3 separate regions of the Homo sapiens genome follow, and all the other regions are linked to region 2. Evidence: promoter capture Hi-C in human tissues and cell types (Jung and others, 2019). All regions are on one chromosome and are shown on one strand. Each heading gives the region's core, a stretch centred on a gene start or on the middle of the fragment in contact. The rest is flanking DNA. Distances are from core to core; before and after follow the strand shown. Region 1 has its middle 12 kb from the start of RPP25. Region 2 holds the start of LMAN1L (lectin, mannose binding 1 like). Region 3 overlaps CLK3 (CDC like kinase 3).

Region 1 (3,115 bases), core at 173-2,672, 160 kb before region 2:
CTTGGGAAGCTGAGGCAGGGGAATTGCTTGAACCAGGGAGGTTGCAGTGAGCTGAGATCATGCCACTGTACTCCAGCCTGGGCAACTGAGCAAGACTCTGTCTCAAAAAAATAAAATAAAATAAAATAGGCCAGGCGCGGTGCTCACGCCTGTATTCCCAGCACTTTGGGAGGCCGAGGAGGGCAGATCACTTGAGGTCAGAAGTTTGAGACCAGCCTGGCCAACATGGGGAAACCCTGTCTCTACTAAAAGGCTGTGGTGGCATGTGCCTGTAATCCCAGCTACTAGGGAGGCTGTGGCAGAAGAATCAGTTGAACCCAGGAGGCAGAGGTTGCAGTGAGCCGAGATTGCACCACTGCACTCCAGCCTGGGTGACAAAGTGAGACTCCCTCTAAAAATAAAATAAAGAGATCTCATTAATCACCTGGTCTTCTTTTCTGGCTAATTTTTTTTATTATTATTAGTAGAGATGGGGGGTTTCGCCATGTTGGCCAGGCTGGTCTCGAACTCCTGACCTCAGGTGATCCGCCTGCCTTGGCCTCCCAAAGTGCTGGGATTACAAGTGTGAGTCACTGCACCCAGCCAATCACCTGGCCTTCTTCCCTTCAGGTTAGGAACTAGGCAGCTTTGGGATTCAGGCTGATGGGTGGAAACAATCCCAAAGTAGGATCACCTGAGGTCAAGAGGTCGAGACCAGCCTGGCCAACATGGTGAAACCTCGTCTCTACTAAAAATACAAAATTAGCCAGGCATGGTGGTGCACACCTATAGTCCCAGCTACTTGGGAGGCTGAGGCAGGAGAATCGCTTGAACCTGGGAGGCAGAGGTTTCAGTGAGCCAAGATCGCACCACCGCACTCCAGCCTGGGCAGCAAAGTGAGACTCTGTCTCAAAAAAAAAAAAAAAAAAAAAAAAAAAAAAAAAGCCCCTGCATTTCCAGGTGAATTCCCTGAAAGTTTCAAGTAGAAGTTGCAACCTTGGCCCAGAGCAGTGGCTCACGCCTGTAATCCCAACACTTTAAGAGACCGAGGCAGGAGTATTGCTTGAGCCCAGGAGTTCCAGACCAGCCTGGGCAACATAGTAAGACCCCATCCCTACAAAAAAAAAAAAAAAAAATCTAAAAATGAGGTGGGAGGATCACCTGAGCCTGAGAGGTTGAGTCTGCAATGAGCTGTGATAGTGCCACTGCACACCTGCCTGGGTGACAGCAGTGAGACCTTGTCTTAAAAAAAAAAAAAAAAAGTTGTGCTGGGCATGGTTACTCATGCCTGTAATCCCAACACTTTGGGAGGCTGAGGCGGGTGGATCACTTGAGGCCAGGAGTTTGTGACCAGACTGGTCAACATGGCAAAACCCCGTCTCTACAAACAAAACACAAAAATTAGTTGGGCATGGCCGGGCACGGTGGCTCACACCTGTAATCCCAGCACTTTGGGAGGCCGAGGCGGGCAAATCTCCTGAGGTCAGGAGTTCGAGACCAGCCTGGCCAACATGGTAAAACCCCTACTCTACTAAAAAAAAAAAAAATACAAAAAATACAAAAAATTAGCTGGTGTGGTGGTGGGCACTTGCAATCCCAGTTACTCGGGAGGCTGAGACAGGAGAATTGCTTGAACTCAGGAGGCAGAGTTTGCAGTGAGCCCTGATTGCTCCACTACACTCCAGCCTGGGCGTCACAGCAAGATTCTGTCTCAAAAAAATAAAATTTAAATTAAAAAAATAAAAGGAGGCTGGGTGTGGTGGCTCACGCCTGTAATCCCAGCACTTTGGGAGGCTGAGGCAGGTGGATCACAAGGTCAGGAGTTCAAGACTAGCCTGGCCAAGATGGTGAAACCCCGTCTCTACTAAAAAATATATATATACAAAAATTAGCCAGGCATGGTGGTGGGCGCCTGTAATCCTAGCTACTTGGGAGGCTGAGGCAGGGAATTGCTTGAACCCAGGAGATGGAAGTTGCAGTGAGCTGAGATCAGGTCACTGCACTCCAGGCTGGCGACAGAGAGATACTCTGTCTCAAAAAAAAAAAAAAAGGAAGTTGCAACCTTGGGCTAAACTGAGCTACAGATACGTTATTTAAAAGCATGAGCTAGGCCAGGCGCAGTGTCTCACGCCTGTAATCCCAGCACTTTGGGAGGCTGAGGCCAGCAGATCACAAGGTCAGGCGTTTGAGACCAGCCTGGCCAACATGATGAAACCCCATCTCTACTAAAAATACAAAAAAAAATTAGCCAGGCGTGGTGGCAGGCACCTGTAGTTCCAGCTACTCTGGAGGCTGAGGCAGGAGAATGGCGTGAACCCAGGAGGCGGAGCTTGCAGTGAGCCAAGACTCCACCACTGCACTCCAGCCTGGGCGACAGAGCGAGACTCCGTCTCAAAAAAAAAAAAAAAAAAAAAAAAAAAAAAAATTAGCCAGGCGTGGTGGCGGGCACCTGCAATCTCAGCTCCTTGGGAGGCTGAGGAAGAAGAATCGCTTGAACCTGGGAGGCGGAGGTTGCAGTGAGCCGAGATCGTGCCATTGCACTCCAACCTAGGCGACAGGGCGAGACTCCATCTCAAAAACAAAAAACAAAAACACATGAGTTAGTTCATGTGGTAGATTGTCTGCAGAGATGGCTGTCAACAGTTCCTCCCATTCCTGTATATACATGTCAGGCCTTTCACCAAGAGGTACAGTTTATTTCCTTATCCCTTGAATCTGGTCTAGACATGTATCTTGGTTTGACCAATGGAATGTAGAGGACATGATAATGTGTGACATCTAGGTCTAGGCCTTACAAAGCCTGACAGCTCCCATTTTCACTGTTTTGGGATCAAGCCACTCAAGAAAGAAGCTTAGGCTAGAGTCCATGAAAAGAGAGGCCCAGCCAACACCCCCAGCCTTCCAGCCACCCCAGCAGAGGCACTAGACTTATGAATGAAGCCATCTTGAGTGTTCTGACCTCTGTCAAGCTCCCAGCTGAATGAAGCCATGTGAGTGACCACAGCCAGTATTAAGTGGAGCAGAAGAACTAACTGCCCAGCTGAACCCAGCCAAAACGAAGTCATTAGAAATAATACATCATTGGCTGGACATGGTGCGTCATGCCTATAATCTCAGCCCTTTGGGAGGCATAGGT
Region 2 (3,039 bases), core at 137-2,636:
ACTCCATCTCACAAAAAAAAAAGGGATATTTTGTCCTGGCTTTAGTTAGGAATCGTGCCATTTCTCAGAACTCACATCTTTTTTTTTTTTTTTTTTGAGCCAGAGTCTGGCTCTGTGCCCAGGCTGAAGTGCAATGGCAGGATCTCAGCTCACTGCAACCTTGGCCTCCCAGGTTCAAGCAATTCTCCTGCCTCAGCCTCCTGAGGAGCTGGGACTACAGGCGCACGCCACCACACCCAGCTAATTTTTGTATTTTTAGTAGAGTCAGGGTTTCACCATTTTGGCCAGGATGGTTTTCAACCTCTTGACCTCGTGATTCATCCGCCTTGGCCTCCCAAAGTGCTGGGATTACAGGCGTGAGCCACTGCACCTGGCCAAGAACTCACATTTTATAGACAGAAATCCACAGCCGATCTGCTTTCTGTCTTTGCTTTGCCTGCTAAGAGGCTCAGAATTAAATCCATGGCCCAACTCTCAGGTGGACAGACCTCACAGCATATGTTTTGGAAGCCATGCTCCTAGACTATTTCACGCTCCACTCTAATCCTCATTGTTCTTGCTCACTCCCTCTATCGTGTAGTTCCATCATCACAAACCCTTTTTTGAACAAGATCTGGTAGAAGACACACTCTTTGTAGGTCTGGGTTTGGAAGTCCCTGAATACAAACCTATGGGCTAAGATGCTCTCATGCCTGCTTCCACCCACAACACACATACAGGGAAGGGCTGGTGCCCACTCACCTGGGATGAGGATGCTTCCCTCCAGGTAGCCCCCAGTTCTCATGGCCAGCCACAGGCCCGCTGGGATGGAGCCGGGAGAGTGGAGGTTTGTGCTGGTCCACATTGCCTTCTGTGTGCCTGGGACTTAGTGTGTGAGCATGTGTCTGTGTGTTCACAGGTCAGAGGTAGAGGAAGGGCAGGGGTCCAAGGAGAGGCAGAGGAGAAGAGAGAAGTCCTGGGGCAGGGAAGCAGAGAGGCAGAGGAGAAACAGCTTGGGCAGGGGTGGGGGGTGTTGAGGCGGTGGAGCAGGAGACAAGCCTGGAAGGGGTCCTGGGGTGCCTGGCACTGTCCCAGGCCTTGCCCCACCCTGGACAGAGGATGGCTGTGACAGACCCACTCCCCACCAAGTCACAGCCCCTCCAGCACTTTGAGGGACCCTGGGCATAGCTGGTCCCCACCCCTGCCCCTCACCTCCATGATGGCTCCAGAAGGGTATTCCAGCCCCAGGCAATGCCAGCCTTGGGCCTTTGAAGCTGAGCTTGTACTCAAACCTGCGTAGAGGAGGACACCCCGTCTCAGGGCTGTGGGGGTCCAGGAGCAGGAGGAGAAGGCAGAATAAGGGACCTGGACCACTGACCGCCGGCATCGTGAAGGCGCCTGAAGTCTGGGCCCCGGGGTAGATCATAGCTGGGAGGCCGGGGAGGGGATCCTGGGATAGGGCCAGGCAGGGAGGAGCTGGGGACTGGCCAGGAGCTGGGTTTTGGCACTGTCCTCTCCCTCTATCTCCAGCATAGACATCCTGTTCCTTCCAGGCCTGCTGTCAGGCCCCGCCCATCCCTCACCTCCAGTCTGACGTGGGCAGCGGGACCCCACGACAACCTGAGCTCTGCCCCTGCTCCTGACTCAGGCCATCTTTCTGTCTCCCATCACTTCCAGCAGTTGGATGCGGCAGAGGGGAAGGGGGGGTGCCCAGGGTTGGCCCCCACCCTTCAGCAGCCCTGGCCTCCCCTCCCAGTTAGGGAGACAGGCCTCCACATTCTGCCTGTGTCCCCCAGCATGGATGGCACATCTATCTGGACACCCATCCTTCTCTCCTCCCTGCCCCCTCTCTCCCTCTCCCGAATTCCCCCAGGCTCATCCTTCCAAGCAGCCTGGTTTCCTCAACAAAAGCATTACATGGAAAAAAGAAGGGAGTCTTTAGAGACAGCACAAAAACGCAACGTGCAGACCTTGTTTGGAGCCAAATTTTAACCCAACTGCAAAAAAAAAAAAAGATATTGGGGAAATTTGAACAATGGATATTTTTGAACAATGGATATTTGACTATATTGAGGAATTGTTAAAAATTTTAGGGCACTGTGGCTCATGTCTGTAATCTTAGCACTTTGGGAGCCCAAGGCAGGTGGATCACCTGAGGTCAGGAGTTCGAGACCAGCCTGGCCAACATTGTGAAACTCTGTCTCTACTAAAAAAAAATACAAAAAATTAGCCAGGCCTGGTGGTGCATGCCTGTAATCCCAGCTACTTGGGAGGCTGAGGCAGGAGAATCACTTGAACCTGGGAGGCAGAGATTGTAGTGAGCGGAGATTGCACCATTGCACTCCAGCCTGGGTGATAAGAGCAAAAATCCATTTCGAAAAAAAAAATTGAGAACTAATATGGTATTGTGGTTATGTTTTTTATTTTTTATTTTATTTTATTTATTTATTTTTTGAGACGGAGTCTCGCTCTATCGCCCGGGCTGGAGTGCAGTGGCGCGATCTTGGCTCACTGCAAGCTCTGCCTCCCGGGTTCACACCATTCTTCTGCCTCAGCCTCCCAAGTAGCTGGGACTACAGGTGCCCGCCACCATGCCTGGCTAATTTTTTGTATTTTTTAGTAGAGATGGGATTTCACCGTGTTAACCAGGGTGGTCTCGATCTTCTGACCTCGTGATCCGCCTGACTTGGCCTCCCAAAGTGTTGGGATTACAGGCGTGAGCCACTGCGCCTGGCCTTTTTTTTTTTTTTTGAGAGGTGGTGTCTTCCTATGTTACCAAGGATGGACTCAAACTTCTGGGCTCAAAGGATCCTCCTGCCTCCTGAATAGCTGGAAATAAAGGCATGAGCCACCACGCCTGGCTTGTGGTTATGTTTTTAAAGTGTCTTTTGGAGAAACATACAAAAGCTTTACAGATGAATTGCTGTAACATCGGGGATTTGCTTCAAAATATTCCAGGGCTTGTTGGTGAGCAGGTGGGGTAGAGATGAGACAGAATTGACCTTGAGTTGGTAAGTGCTGAAGCTGGATGGCGGGATGCAGGGGTTCCTTATATCTTCT
Region 3 (3,096 bases), core at 170-2,669, 200 kb after region 2:
ACTTTCTCTGCCAGTGAACAAACAAACAGCTCCCAGCAGAGCATCACTAGCCTGGTGGCCTGGGTGCTCAGGGAACTGGGTGAGCCAGGGCCAGGGGCTGAGGCAGTAACCCTGGGTGGGGACGGTGAACACTACCACAGGGAGATCAAAGGCAGGAGAAAGGGGAGCCTCCTGCACTCTATTCCCTCCCGCCCGGGGGGGCGGTCCCGTGAAGTGAATGCTCTGTAAAGCCAAAGGCCAGGCAAAGGGCTGTACACAGGAGGCGAGGGCTCAAAGCCCTCAAGTTTGAGAAGCTGAACGCTGTCTGGCTAGGGCCCTGAACTGGACCCCACTCAAGGGAGTAAGGACCACAAGTGAGCATGAGGAGCCACAAGAGACTAGAAGAGCAGCCCTTGGAGAAAGAGGCACACAGGCCTCACAAACATTCCATAGCCCTCCTGAGGGTCAACCCAAGGGGACGTGGACCCAGCGCATCTAACTTTCTTTCCAGAGGCCCATTTAGCACCCTTTTAGACCCCCACAGTGCCCTGCCAGGTGCCTTGCCTTTATCCAACAGTACCGTTACTGTCCCTTCTTCTAGCTCTCTGGCTCTAGTATCCTACCCTCCGCCTATCCCAGGATAGCCAGAGGGTTAGCCATCTGGCAGGTAAAAGAGCCCCACCTCACTATCCCTGTTCAGTGAGGACTTATATCCACCAAATGAAATTGCCAGGCTGGATCTGCCACCAGCGGAGAAAGCTGGCCATGTGAGGCCAGCAACCTGCTCCACCCATACGTCAATCCCTGACTGCCTCCATGGAGCCAGCCTTCTTCCCAACACTCACACTTGGCCACAGCCAACCTCCAGTCATGGTCAGTCCTGAGCTTGCCTGGCCAAGCACATTTTGTACAAACCCACTGAGGCTGCCCCATCTCACCAGCAGGGTCTGTCAGGAGAAAAGCAGCATAGAACAGCTCCCCATGCTTGAGCAGGACAGTGAGGCCTATGTGACCAAACCCCTGGGAGCCTCTCCGTGTCCCTAAGAAAGCCCTCCATCTCCCCACTAACTTGTCTTCCCCCGTGTACCTGGGAAGTCTTTGGAGATAAATATTTTGTGAAATCACCTCCCCAAAAGCTTAGATTTGTTGTTTTGGTAATCAGCTGACTAATATTTCACTGTTTTCCTGCAATTACTCTGGGTCAGGTGCCCAAGCTATGGAATGAAAGCAGGAACTCACACCCCACTAATTGACCCAGAAGATGCTCTATTGGCCAGGGCACATGTCGTGCCACAAGGCAAGTATGGTCCTGCCCATCCTCACTGGGCAGACAAACACCAGAGCTGGAGGACACAGTCACAGTCACACCACGCCAAAGACTACCTCCTGGGACCTAGAAGATTCTTATGTCCATACATATTCACATCAATGGAAAACAAAATTTCAGAGTCATATAGATGTCAATCTGAATCATGGCTTGCCACTTCTAGCTGTGTGCCTTTGAACAAATTATTACACTACTCTGACCGTCAGCTTCATCTTGCAACAAGGGAATAGTAATCTCTTACAAGGTTCTGTGAGGATTAAATATCTCTCTCCTATAAGTGAAATGCCTAGCACAGCTTTGTGCCCACAGAGGTACTAGTGGCAGCTTTTCATGAACATCTGAAAGTTCCAGGTAACACTTCAGGGCTGTGTTAAATGCCTTACAGACATTTTATAAGTCCCTTCCAAGGAAACTGGGAGGCAAGAGCTCTGGCAGAAAACTAAACTAAATCCTAGTGCTGTCACATACCAGCCTCATGACCTTAGACAAGTCACTCTAGGCCTTGGTTAGCATGCCTGGAAAATGGAGATAACATCTCTCAGCCTGGCAAAAGAGATGACAAGCATGAGAGTTATAAGGTACCACACACAAAGCAATAACAGAGAAGAGTATCCTTCCTTTAACACATTCTAGGCAAGTAAAATATTGGAAATAGCAGATATCATCCTCCCAGCCAGGGCTCTAGGGCCCATTTCTCAATTATCTCTGATTCTCGAAAACCTCAGCAAACAGCTTGTTTAAAAAGCAGCTAAAGGCCACAATTATGCTTTGGGAAGCTCTGCTCTGCACAATGAGGAAAAAGGTGATATGAAGAAAACCAAGCCAAGGATGTCAACTTTGAGCACAGGCCTTGTCGGCTTCTCATTTGCTGTTCCTGGCCAGAGAACTGGGCTGACTAGAAGTGCAGCCAGCCAGGTCAGCGGCTGCCCTCCCGGATTCCAGCCACCCCAGCACCCATGGTTATTTTTGGCTGGACTGCCCTACCACTGCAACCTCAAACCTGCCACCTCGCAAGCCTCCACCACCAACGGTGAAACGCTCCTCCTTTTCAAGGGCATCAAGAAGGGAAGCTGGAAGGCCGCCAACTCCGCCTCTGATGGGGGCCTGGTTCAGGCAATTTCCACCCCAGCTCCACATCAGGGCACCCACACCCGGAACTAAAGCTAGAGACTCCCGGGCGGGACGGAGGAGCAGCCAGGGGATTTGAACTGTCAGCTTGGCCTAGCCCATCCTCCGGGCTGGAGTGGCTCTACCACCACAACAAAACACACAGGGGAGCCTGCGCCCTCGTTCGCGTCCCTTCCTGCCGCCCCAGGTCCCAGGGGGTCTCAGAGTCCCATCCCCTGTAACCGCCACCAGTGGCGCCGAGGGGAGACCCGGGGACAGAGGGAAAGCCGGACTGGGCCAGAATCAAACTCCAGGCCGCCAAGGGAGGAGTCATCTGCGGACTAAGCCTGAAGCCAGGGGTAGGGGAGGGGTCTGAAGGGCTTCTCTGGCTCTTCTACGTCGGACCCCGACCCCATTCCGCGGGCAGGCACAGAGCCCAAACTGGACCCTTGAGCGGCCCCAGAGGCCGTTCAGGCTCCGCCTTCAACACCGTGGGGTCGAGGTCAGGGTCTGCAGTGACCGCCCTCCGGGGCAGAAGCAGCGGGTCAGGGGTGAGAGGTCGCGGCCCGATATGGGCCGAAGAGGAGAAAGAAAGGGAGTAGGCCGAGACCGAATGGCACCAGCGCGCCTGCCCCGCCGACTCACCCCCGGCCGCCGCCGCCGCTGTCGCCGCCGCGGACCCC

The links. Contacts are between HindIII fragments. The study calls those that stand out against the background at their distance.
Region 1: a fragment that was not itself captured here is called in contact with the fragment with the promoter of LMAN1L in region 2 in 1 of the 25 tissues and cell types used here (lymphoblastoid cells).
Region 3: a contact is called between a fragment that was not itself captured here and the fragment with the promoter of LMAN1L in region 2, in 6 of the 25 tissues and cell types used here (aorta, dorsolateral prefrontal cortex, heart right ventricle and 3 more).

The regions. Positions count from the first base shown.
Region 1 is chr15:74,967,433-74,970,547 of GRCh38, reverse strand. No RefSeq gene overlaps it. Among named protein-coding and RNA genes, the nearest start is that of RPP25, 12 kb to the right of the region's middle. The HindIII fragment of the contact is 5,742 bases long and covers 1-3,115 here.
Region 2 is chr15:74,811,182-74,814,220 of GRCh38, reverse strand. It overlaps LMAN1L (lectin, mannose binding 1 like), which reads right to left and starts at 1,386. Exons shown (of 14, transcript NM_021819.3): 1 at 1,192-1,386. The coding sequence starts at 1,366. The HindIII fragment of the contact is 6,905 bases long and covers 1-3,039 here.
Region 3 is chr15:74,615,912-74,619,007 of GRCh38, reverse strand. All of the region lies in intron 1 of CLK3 (CDC like kinase 3), which reads right to left. Among named protein-coding and RNA genes, the nearest start is that of CLK3, 1.6 kb to the right of the region's middle. RefSeq lists enhancers at 1,807-2,417, 2,418-3,029. The HindIII fragment of the contact is 8,305 bases long and covers 1-3,096 here.